Linked DNA regions of Homo sapiens: region 1 is linked to region 2. Evidence: promoter capture Hi-C in 16 types of primary human blood cells and fetal thymus (Javierre and others, 2016). All regions are on one chromosome and are shown on one strand. Each heading gives the region's core, a stretch centred on a gene start or on the middle of the fragment in contact. The rest is flanking DNA. Distances are from core to core; before and after follow the strand shown.

Region 1 (5,044 bases), core at 917-3,416, 100 kb after region 2:
GTGGGCGGGCAGGCAGGCAGGCGGGCGGGCGGGCATCTACAGATGAACGACTAAGTGAAAAATGGGTTTAGTAAGGTTGCTGAATAAAAAGGTAAATATAGAAAAATTGGTCGTATTTATAACAGCAATAAGAAAAACATTAAACACTACTTACAACAGCATCAAGAAACATCAAATACCTAGTAATAAATCTAATGGAAAACATGCAAAAACTCTACAAAGGAAACTACAAAACACGACCGAGGAAAATTAAAGAGAATCTAAATAAAGATACGTATCATATTCATGAATTAGAAGGCTAAATATTATGAAGATGTCAATGTAATTCTACTCAATATCCCAGCTCATAGCGTTCTAAAAATTAGCAAGCTTATTGAAAATTTTATATGAAAATGCAAATGGCCCAGAATACCCCAGATAATCTTGAAGAGCATAGCTGGAGGACTCACACTGTATGTTATTAAGACTTTTTAATGAAGCCAAAATAATTAAGGTTGAGTGTGATTTGGGCACAAGAATAAATAAGCAGACCAATGGAACAGAATAGAGGATAGAAATAGATGCTTGCATGTATGCAAACTTGATTAATGACAAAAGTCCACTGCAGAGCAGTGAGGAAACTCTTTATAATAAATGGGATTGAGTCAGTTGTATATCCATATGGAGAAGAAAAGAATCTTGACCTTCTTCACATTAATCCAAAGGTCTAAATTTTAGGCATATTACAGATATAAATGTAATAGGTAAAGTGGTGAAGCTTCTAAAAGGAAAAAAATATTTTCATGACCTTGGGGTAGGAAAAATTTCATATATAAGACATCAAAATGAAAACATGATAAATTGGACTACTTGAAAATTAAGAACATTAGTTCATGAAAACACACCATCAAGATGATGAAAAGAAAGCCACGGAGTGGACCGGGTGCGGTGGCTCAAGCCTGTAATCCCAGCACTTTGGGAGGCCGAGGCAGGCGAATCATGAGGTCAAGAGATCGAGACCATCCTGCCCAACATGGTGAAACCCCGTCTCTACTAGAAATACAAAAATTAGCTGGGCTTGGTGGCATGTGCCTGTAGTCCCAGCTATTCAGGAGGCTAAGGCAGGAGAATCACTTGAACCCGGGAGGCAGAGGTTGCAGTGAGCCGAGATCGTGCCATTGCACTCCAGCCTGGGCGACACAGAGAGACTACATCTCACAAAAAAAAAAAAAAAAAAAAAGATACAATGCACTTTGGGTATTCAGGGGAAAGGGTGGGAAGGGGGCGAGGGATAAAAGACCACACGTTGGGTACCGTGTACACTGCTCGAGTGATGGCTGCACCAAATCTCAGAAATCACCACTGAAGAACTTATGAAACCAAACACCACCTGTTCCCCAAAAACCTATTGAAATAAATAAAAAGTAAGTAAAATATAAAAATGGTAAATTTTGTTATGTATATTTTTGCACAATTTAAACAAACTTTTCTGGCTCACACCTGTAATCCCAGCACTTTGGGAGGCCAAGGCGGGAGGACCACTTGAGCCCAGGAGTTGGAGACCAGCCTGGGCAACGTAGCAAGACTATGTCTTAATTAATTAATTAATTAATTAATTTATGGAGACAGAGTCTCGCCCTGTCACCCAGGCTGGAGTGCAATGGCACGATCTTGGCTCACTACAACCTCTGCCTTCTGGGTTCAAGCGATTCTCCTGCCTCAGCCTCCCGAGTAGCTGGGATTACAGGTGCGCGCCACCACGCCCGGCTAATTTGTTGTATCTTTAGTAGAGATGGGGGTTTCACCATGTTGGCCAGGCTGGTTTCGAACTCCTGACCTCGTGATCCGCCAGCCTCAGCCTCCCAAAGTGCTGGGATTACAGGCGTGAGCCACCGTGCCCGGCCTCAGAAGCTCCACAGTGGGCCTCTTCTTATATTTCATGGGCCAGAATTCTGCCACCTGTCCGTTCCTAAACCAATGATAACGGCAATAATAATAAAATTGCTGTGATTGATTTATTCTAAGACTCACCCCCAACTCTCACACTGGGAAGGGGCTCAGCTTCCCCTGAAGCACGTGGCTGCCCAATACTCAAACAATATCTGGATTTTGCTAAGGAGAAAAAAGTAGTGGCGGGGATCAGGGAGGACCCAGCAAGGTTTTTCTCACTGGGGCAGGGACTGATTCCCTGAGGACGCCGAAGTTCTTCCGGAGACGCACCTGAGACGGACTGACTCCCACCCCGGAGTCCCTGCGGAGTTATAAATGTCCCTTAGATCTGTCCCCTCAGCTCTCCATTCCGGGGACCAGTGTTCTGAGCTCGGCCGCCATCGCCTCACGCTCAGCGACGGGCGTGGCCGGGAGCCGCCTGCGGATGGAGGAAGCGGCCGCCAGCGCCCCCTGGAGGCTCGGGCCGGCTCCACTCCCGCGGCCCCCGCCACCGCCCAGCTCCCCGCGGAGGCGCCCAGGCCGGTCTGAGCCCGACAGGGCGGAACCACCGCGGCGGCGCTGCCCTGAGTGGAAATGCGGCCTCCGCAGCGGGAGAAGATGCTGGGAGCCGGATGGGGCCCGGAGGCGCGACACCGCAGTTCTCCGTACTTGAAGACACCCATCCAGGCCACCTTTTCAGTCGGCTGCAGGGACACGTCCTACAAGGGCGTGCTGGAGGCTGAGCTAGCAAAGCTGGGGCGAGGGCGGGACGGTGGATCATTCGCAGACACATCATCACACCAGGGTGTCCGGCACCTTACCCAAGGCCAGGAATAGCAACTCAGATGTTAAATCGTGTCAAACATCTGTGGAGAAGATGGCACCTTTTTCTTCTCCTTCTTTCTCTCTCTCTCTCTCTTTCTTTTTTTTTTTTTTTTTTTTTTTTTTTTTTTTTTTTTTTTTGAGATGGAGTCTCGCTCTGTCACCCAGGCTGGAGTACAGTGGCGCGATCTCGGCTCACTGCAACGTCCACCTCCCGGGTTCAAGTGATTCTCCTGCCTCAGCCTCCCGAGTAGCTGAGATTAGAGGCATGTGCTACCACGCCCGGCTAATTTTTGTATTTTTAGTAGAGACGGGGTTTCACCATGCTGGCCTGGCAGGTCTTGAACTCCCGACCTCAGGACATCCGCCCGCCTTGGCCTCCCAAAGTGCTGGGGTTACAGATGGGAGCCACCGCGCCTGGCTAATTTTTGTGTTTTTAGTAGAGACGGGGTTTCACCATATTGGCCAGGCTAGTTTCGAACTCCTGTACTCTAGGGATCTGCCTACTTCAGCCTCCCAAAGTGCTGGGATTACAGGCATAAGCCACTGCCCAGCCAAGATGGCACTTTTGACAACATCTGTTTGTCCAGATCAGCAATGAGTCAGCAATTGACTTCTACAGAAGTTTGGCTTTGAGATGACTGAGACAAAGACAGATAAAGGATAAGAGGATGGAGCCTGCAGATGCTCAGGAGTTGCAGAAAAACCTCAAAGTCCCTTCCGATCAGAATGGAGATATGCAAAACACAACTGAACAAGTCACAAAATGAACCTTCTTGCACTTGCTTGTTGACAAAAAAAGACAAGCCCATTGATTTTCACCCCCTCTTTCTTGTAAAGCTTTCCTGCACTGCCATGTTTTTGTTTTTCCTTCTTTCTTTTCTTTTCAAAGTTTTAATACTTTCAAGGACTTTAAAAATGATCATGTTTGGGCCAGGCGCAGTGACTCACTCCTGTAATCCCAGCACTTTGGGAGGCCAAGGTGGGTGGATCACTTGAGGTCAGGAGTTCCAGACGAGCCTGGCCAACATGGTGAAACCCCATCTGTACTAAAAATACAAAAATTAGCCAGGCGTGGTGGCGTGTGCCTGTAGTCCCAAGCTACTCAGGAGCCTGAGACAGGGGAATCGCTTGAACCTGGGAGGCAGAGGTTGCAGTGAGCCGAGATCGTGCCACTGCACTCCAGCCTGGGCCACAGAGCAAGACTCCATCTCAAAAAAAAAAAAAAAAAAAAAAAAAAAAAAAAGATCATGTTTGGATTGTTTCAGTTCTCTTATTTTTGTGAGGTGGTTTGACTGAAGGCAGGAGAAGGTAGATCTGTTTAATTTCACAGTTAAGATAAATGGTTCTAAAAATTTAGGTGTCAAATAATTTCACATTTCTTAGCTTGGAGTTGGAGACCAGCCTGGGCAACATAGCAAGACTCTGTCTCTATTTTTTTTTTTTGGAGACGGAGTCTCACACTGTTGCCCAGGCTGGAATGCAATGGCGAGATCTCAGCTCACTGCAACCTCCGCCTTCTGGGTTCAAATGATTCTCCTGCTTCAGCCTCCTGAGTAGCTGGGACTACAGGCGCCTGCCACCACGTCCGGCTAATTTTGGTATTTTCTTAGTAGAGACAGGGTTTCACCATGTTGGCCAGATGGTCTTGATTTCTTGACTTCATGATCCGCCTGCCTCGGCCTCCCAAAGTGCTGGGATTACAGGCGTGAGCCACCGAGCCTGGCCCTCTTAGTTGTTTTTTCTTAGTCCTGCTTTCACATCGAAGGGCAGAGCCTACAAAATATTGTACATTTCAAAAGACAGAAAGAAGCAGCAGTGATATCTTGTTTTCTAATTCATAGACGAGTTTAGTGTGCTTGTGGTACCTTGGGCTTTGAAAGCCTTTGTGGGATACCAATCCCTAGACATTATCTTCACTCCAGCTTTAGTCCTTCCGAGCACTCTCAGGAGTAGCACCGTTGCTATCTCTGGAAGAAATGCTGAGCATATTTATTATTATTATTATTATTTTGGAGACAGAGTCTTGCTCTGTCGCCCAGGCTGGAGTGCAGTGGCGGATCTCGGCTCATTGCAAGCTCCGTCTCCTGAGTTTAGGCGATTCTCCTGCCTTAGCCTCCCGAGGTAGCTGGGACTACAGGCACGCGCCACCACGCCCGGCTAATTTTTGTGTTTTTAGTAGAAAGAGGGTTTCACCATGTTGGCCAGGCTAGTCTTGAACTCCCGACCTCAGGTAATCTGCCTGCCTTGGCCTCCCAAAGTGCTGAGACTACAGGGGTGAGCCACGGCGCCTGGCCGCATATTTTGATTTTTA
Region 2 (5,479 bases), core at 561-3,060:
AGAACCAAGAATTAAAACCGGAAAGAGGAGAGCCCACCGCCCACATTGGTACCACTCAACGCCTCATGATGCCCATCCTGGAAAAGCGGAGGGGTCAATGCAGAGGCTGAAGGCAGTGCGGGGGTGGGGTGGGGCTGGGGGCTCTTCCCCGCGTGTTTCTCCTCCTGGAGGAGGTGGCGGTCTCCAATCCTGAGATCAGCTCCTCTAGCTCCCTGCTGCCCATGGCCTCCCGCAGCCACTGACTCCGGTGACTGACCTCTGTGGGGACACTGCCTCTTCCTGTCCTGAAACACCGACAGTATCAACATATGATCAAAGAGTCCAGGTGGTGCAAAGATAACATGGAAGTGTCCTATCAGTGCCAGGGCGTGGAGTGGGACAGCGAGGGGAAGGGGCACCCATAACTAACCATGGTCTGGTCCAGGGCCGAAAGGACCTTGGGGAAAATGGGCACGCGGTGCTGGGAGAGTCCTGGGAGCGGGAGAGCACGAAGGGCACAGCCGCTGGGACAGTGCAGCCCAAACTTTCTGGAAGTGTGAACTGGACCCTCCTGGGGTGGGACCTGGCATGGGGTAGGACACTAGGGATCCAACAAGGAAAATAAGGCCATGCCAAGGAGGAGGCTGCAAGGGGATGGCTTTGTGGCTGACTCTGTCCAGCGTTTCCCATGGGGCGTCCCAGCTCATCTTTGCAGTTTTGCCTTCCCCCTGGACAGTGAGTCCTGCCAGGCAGGGTCTCTGGCTTGTTCACATTTGTATATATCCCCAAGAATACTTGGTCTAGCACCTTGTAGGGGCTCAGCACAGGCTAAAGTGTCATTTGCTCTAGAGCTGTTGGAGAGGTTGAGGACTTAGTCATTTGTGGTCATTGATAAGTCCTCTTTCTTTTCTTTCTTTGCTTTTTTCTTTTCTTCTTCTTCTTCTTCTTCTTTTTTTTTTTGACGGAGTTTCGCTCTTGTTGCCCAGGCTGGAGTACAGTGGCACGATCTCGGCTCACGGCAACCTCCGCCTCCTGGGTTCAAGCGATTCTCCTGCCTCAGCCTCCCAAGTATCTGGGATTGCAGGCATGTACCACCACGCCTGGCTAATTTTTGTATTTTTAGTAGAGACAAAGTTTCACCATGTTGTCCAGGGTGGTCCCGAACTCCTGACCTTAGGCGATCCGCCGGCCTCAGCCTCCCAAAGTGCTGGGATTACAGGTGTGAGCCACCGCGCCCGGCCGAGAAGTCCTTTCTCATAATTGGTGAATATAAATCCCGGAGTCCTCACCACAGGCTCCGGGCCCTGCATGATCCGGGCCCCGCTGGATTCGGCCCCTTCTCTGCTCCCTCTGACTTCACGCCCTATCACTCTGCTCCTCACTTCCTCTGCAAAAAGCCTAGCACCCTCCGGCAGCTCCTCCTTGGAGCCGGCTCTGGCTCCAAACAAAAGATACCCAAACAAAGGCAAGAAAGTGGTGAATTCCTAGAACCGGGAGGGCGCGGGCTCGGGGGCCAGCTGCAGGTTCCTGAGACGTGGGAGAGGAGGAGGAGTGAACACAGACCGCAGGCCAGTGAGTGGAGCAAGGTGCAAACTGCCAGAGAGCGGAGGCCCGGCCCGAAGACCCCAGACTCGCCTCCCGCCCACCCGCCCCCACGTGAAAAGGCACCAGATCCTAAGCGCTAACAGCGAAGGGCGGGACCGGCAGAGGGCTCCCTGCGGCGCCTCTCGAGGCGCGAGCGACCGGAAGGAAAGGCGGGAGGCTCAGCAGCGCGGCGGTGGGAGGAGCGCGCCCTTGCTGATTTCATGGAGGCCCGGGGCCGCGGGCGCTGTTCTCCTTCCTGTGCCGAGTGTGGTTTGCTATCAAGCGGTGGCAGTTCAGCCACAATCAGGGGCAGGGGGAGGGAGAGGCCCCCCGAAGAGGCAGAGGCCCTGCCTCGGCCGCCCTGAGCCTGGAAGGTGATTGGCTAGAGCGACTCCCGGCCGGGAGCGGAATGAATGGCGGGGACCGGGGCCTCTGGGTGGTGCGAGGTATGTTGGGAGGTGCGGGTTTTAATCGGCAGTTGGGCAGTTTAGCCACACGGGCCGGGGGCAGGGTGGGGCTGGCAGAGAAGGGAAGCTGGTGAGGCGGAAACAGGGAGGAGTAGGTTTTTCTTTCTTCTCACACCGGCAAACCAGAGGAAGCTTAACCTATCGGAACCAATTACTAGCATGAACCTAGCACTGAGCTCAAAGGCTGAATTTTAGACCTTTCACTGCTCCCATGCACACCCTGCCTGGTCACGGCTTCTCACCGTCTTTACCAAGATCAGTCACACCTGTGAAGCCCTGCTCATTCATCTCGCCAATTCCCTTCTACAGGACCCAGTGCCCAGACGCCACTACCCAATTCCCCCAGCCTTGGAATCTCCTCCTCTCTGCCAGGTCCTCACCACTGTGTTCTTGGCGATTTCACTAAAGATTCACCTCCTCAAAACTGGCCCCAATTAGTCCCACCCTGTTCAACCTACTATCTCCACTTAACGGCAAATGGCACCTGACACCCTCAGAAGTCAGACTCCTGGCAACTACAATTACCCAAAATACGGCAGAAAACTGTCTCGAAGCCCAGGCAACTGATTCTTGGGAGAAGCTGACTCATGCTTGGCCTCTACCTAGAGAAATAATTCATATTTAGAGCTGTGAGAATAGATAGCAAAGAGAGAGTAAGAAAAAAGATGCATAAATATGTACTAACACGTTTTTATAATTGCTTTTGTGTTCTTCCTGACAGCATCATGTTGCCTTTTAATATGGAGCATGTGCCATAGCTCTCCAGGAGAACCCCTCTGTGTCACAGCGAACCTCAGTCACTGACACTCAAAAGAAGGAATTATTTCAACTCAATAATAAACAAATAACCCTATTTTAAAATCAGCAAAGGGTGTTACCACATTTCCACAGAAGGTATACAAATGGCCAGTAATCATGTGAAAAGATGCTTGATATCATTTGTCATCAGGGAAATGCAAATCAAAACTGCAATGAGAGGCCAGGCGCTGTGGCTCACACCTGTAATCCCAGCGCTTTGGGAGGCTGAGGCAGGTGGATCGCTTGAGCCCAGGAGTTCAAACCCAGCCTGACCAACATGGTGAAACCCCGTCTCTACAAAAAAATACAAAAATTAGCCGGGCACAGTGGCCTGTGCCTGTAATCCCAGCTACTCAGGAGGCTGAGGCAGGAGACTCACTTGAACCCAGGAGGCAGAGGTTGCAGTGAGCCGAGATTGTGCCATTGCACTCCAGCCTGGGTGACGGGAGTGAAACCCTGTCTAAAAAAACCCCAAAAACAAAAACTACAATGACATATCACTTTATATGCACTAGGATGCCTAGCATCAAAAGGTCAAATAAAACAAGTATGTGGAGAAACTGCGACCCTCATACACTGCTGGTGGGAATGTAAGATGGTGCAGAAACTTTGGAAAGGAGTCTGGCAGCTCCTCAAAAGGTAAAAGCATGGAGTTATCAGGTGGCTCACAAATTCCATTCCTAGGGACCTAAAAGAAATGAAGACATGCTATACAAACACCTGAAGACATGCTATACTAACACCTGAAGCCATGCTATACTAACACCCGAACATGAATGTTCAGAACAGCATCATTCATGATTACCAAGAAGTGGAAAAAACCCAAATGTCCATCAACTAACTGACGAGTGGATACAGTATATCCATGCAGTGGAATTTCTTTTTCTCTTTCTTTCTTTCTTTTCTTTCTCTTTCTTTCTTTCTTTTTCTTTCCTTCTTTCTTTCTTTCTTCTTTCTTCTTTTTTTTTTTTTTGATGGGATCTCTTTCTGTCACCCAGGCTGGAGTTCAGTGATGCTATCTCAGCTCACTGCAACCTCCTCCTGGGCTCAAGCGATCCTCCCACCTCAGCCTCCCCAGTAGCTGGGACCACAGGTGCCTGCCACCACACCCGACTAATTTTTTGTATTTTTGGTAGAGATGGGGTTTCTGCCCAGGCTGGTCTTGAACTTCTGAGCTCAAGCGATCCACCCGCCTCAGCCTCCCAAAGTGCTGGGAATACTGGCTTGAGCCACTGCGCCCAGCTATGCAGTGGAACATTTCTCAGCCATAGAAGAGAATAAAGTACTGATACATGCTACAACAGGGACAAACTTTGAAAACATTATGCTAAGTGAAAAAAGTCAGTCACAAATGATCACATGTTACATGATTTCATTTACATGAATTGTTCAGAGAAGGCAAATCTGTAGAGAGAGAAAGATTAGTGGTTACCTAGGTCTGGGGGTTTGGGGGAAAATGGGAGTGACTGGTAATGGGTATGGGGTTTCCTTTTGAGGTTATGAAAATGTTCTAAAATTGTGGTGATGGTTTCATGAGTATGTGAACATGCTAAAAGCAATTGCCTTGTACACATTAAATGCGTAAATTATATGGTAGATGAGTTATAGCTCAATAAAGCTGTTCTATAAAAATAAACCACTGGGCACTGTGGCTCACGCCTGTAATCCCAGCACTTTGGGAGGCCGAGGCAGGCAGATCACCTGAGGTCAGGAGTTCGAGACCAGCCTGACCAACATGGTGAAACCCTGTTTCTACTAAAAATACAAAATTAGTTGGGTGTGGTGGTGCATGCTTGTAATCCCAGCTACTCAGGAGGCTGAGACAGGAGAATCACTTGAACCTGGGAGGTGGAGGTTGCAAATGAGCCGAGATCACGCCAGAAAAAAAGAATAGGTTAACATAGACTCAGTATACAAGAAAGGGAAGTGTGGCGGCTCACATCTGTAATCCCCGTGAAGTGGGATTTGTTTAACATTTTTTGAAAATCAGAATAAAAAAGATTAGTGCTTAAACTGATACTCTCTAGTTATTTGGAAAATACATTTATGTAAAACATGTGTTTTCCTATTATAGTCTAAATTAGAACATTGGAGCACCTAGCAACATCTTAAAGCTAGTTAAACAGAATGACATCATATTTTGACCATACTGTTTTGAAATTGTGCAGTTTCTCTTTGTATCTCTAGAGTGATTCATGAATATGTATTTGGCTTCTCAAATTAAAAATATTTCACTGCTATTGAACTATTCCTTTAATATCTGTATAAATGTTTTTAAGTATTATATTTTGAGGATTTTGAAGCTTTAGGTTTCTTATTTAAAATACAATTATCGGCCAGGCATGGTGGCTCACACCTGTAATCCCAGCACTTTGGGAGGCCGAGGCGGGTGAATCACAAGGTCAAGAGATCAAAACCATTCTGGCCAACATGGTGAAACCCCGTCTCTACTAAAAATACAAAAAAAGTTTAGCCAGGCGTGGTCGTGGGCACCTGTAGTCCCAGCTACTCAGGAGGCTGAAGCAGGAGAATGATGTGAACCCAGGAGGCGTAGGTTGCAGTGAGCTGAGATCGCACCACTGCACTCCAGCCTGGCAACAGAGCGAGACTCTGTCTCAAAAAAATACAATAATAAAATAAAATAAAAAATA

The links. The method cuts DNA at HindIII sites, captures the fragments that hold promoters and counts their contacts. A CHiCAGO score of 5 or more calls a contact.
Region 1: a fragment that was not itself captured here is called in contact with the fragment with the promoter of LINC01063 in region 2 in 1 of 17 cell types (M2 macrophages); the score reaches 5.2 in M2 macrophages.

What each region holds. Positions count from the first base shown.
Region 1 is chr3:196,526,273-196,531,316 of GRCh38, reverse strand. It overlaps the pseudogene NAA50P2. Among named protein-coding and RNA genes, the nearest start is that of SMCO1, 13 kb to the right of the region's middle. RefSeq lists a silencer at 2,260-2,559 and an enhancer at 3,330-3,399. The HindIII fragment of the contact is 2,813 bases long and covers 760-3,572 here.
Region 2 is chr3:196,628,918-196,634,396 of GRCh38, reverse strand. It overlaps LINC01063 (long intergenic non-protein coding RNA 1063), which reads left to right and starts at 1,810. Exons shown (of 2, transcript NR_132101.1): 1 at 1,810-2,009; 2 at 2,752-2,893. RefSeq lists a silencer at 1,919-1,998 and an enhancer at 1,388-2,142. The HindIII fragment of the contact is 3,065 bases long and covers 1-2,164 here.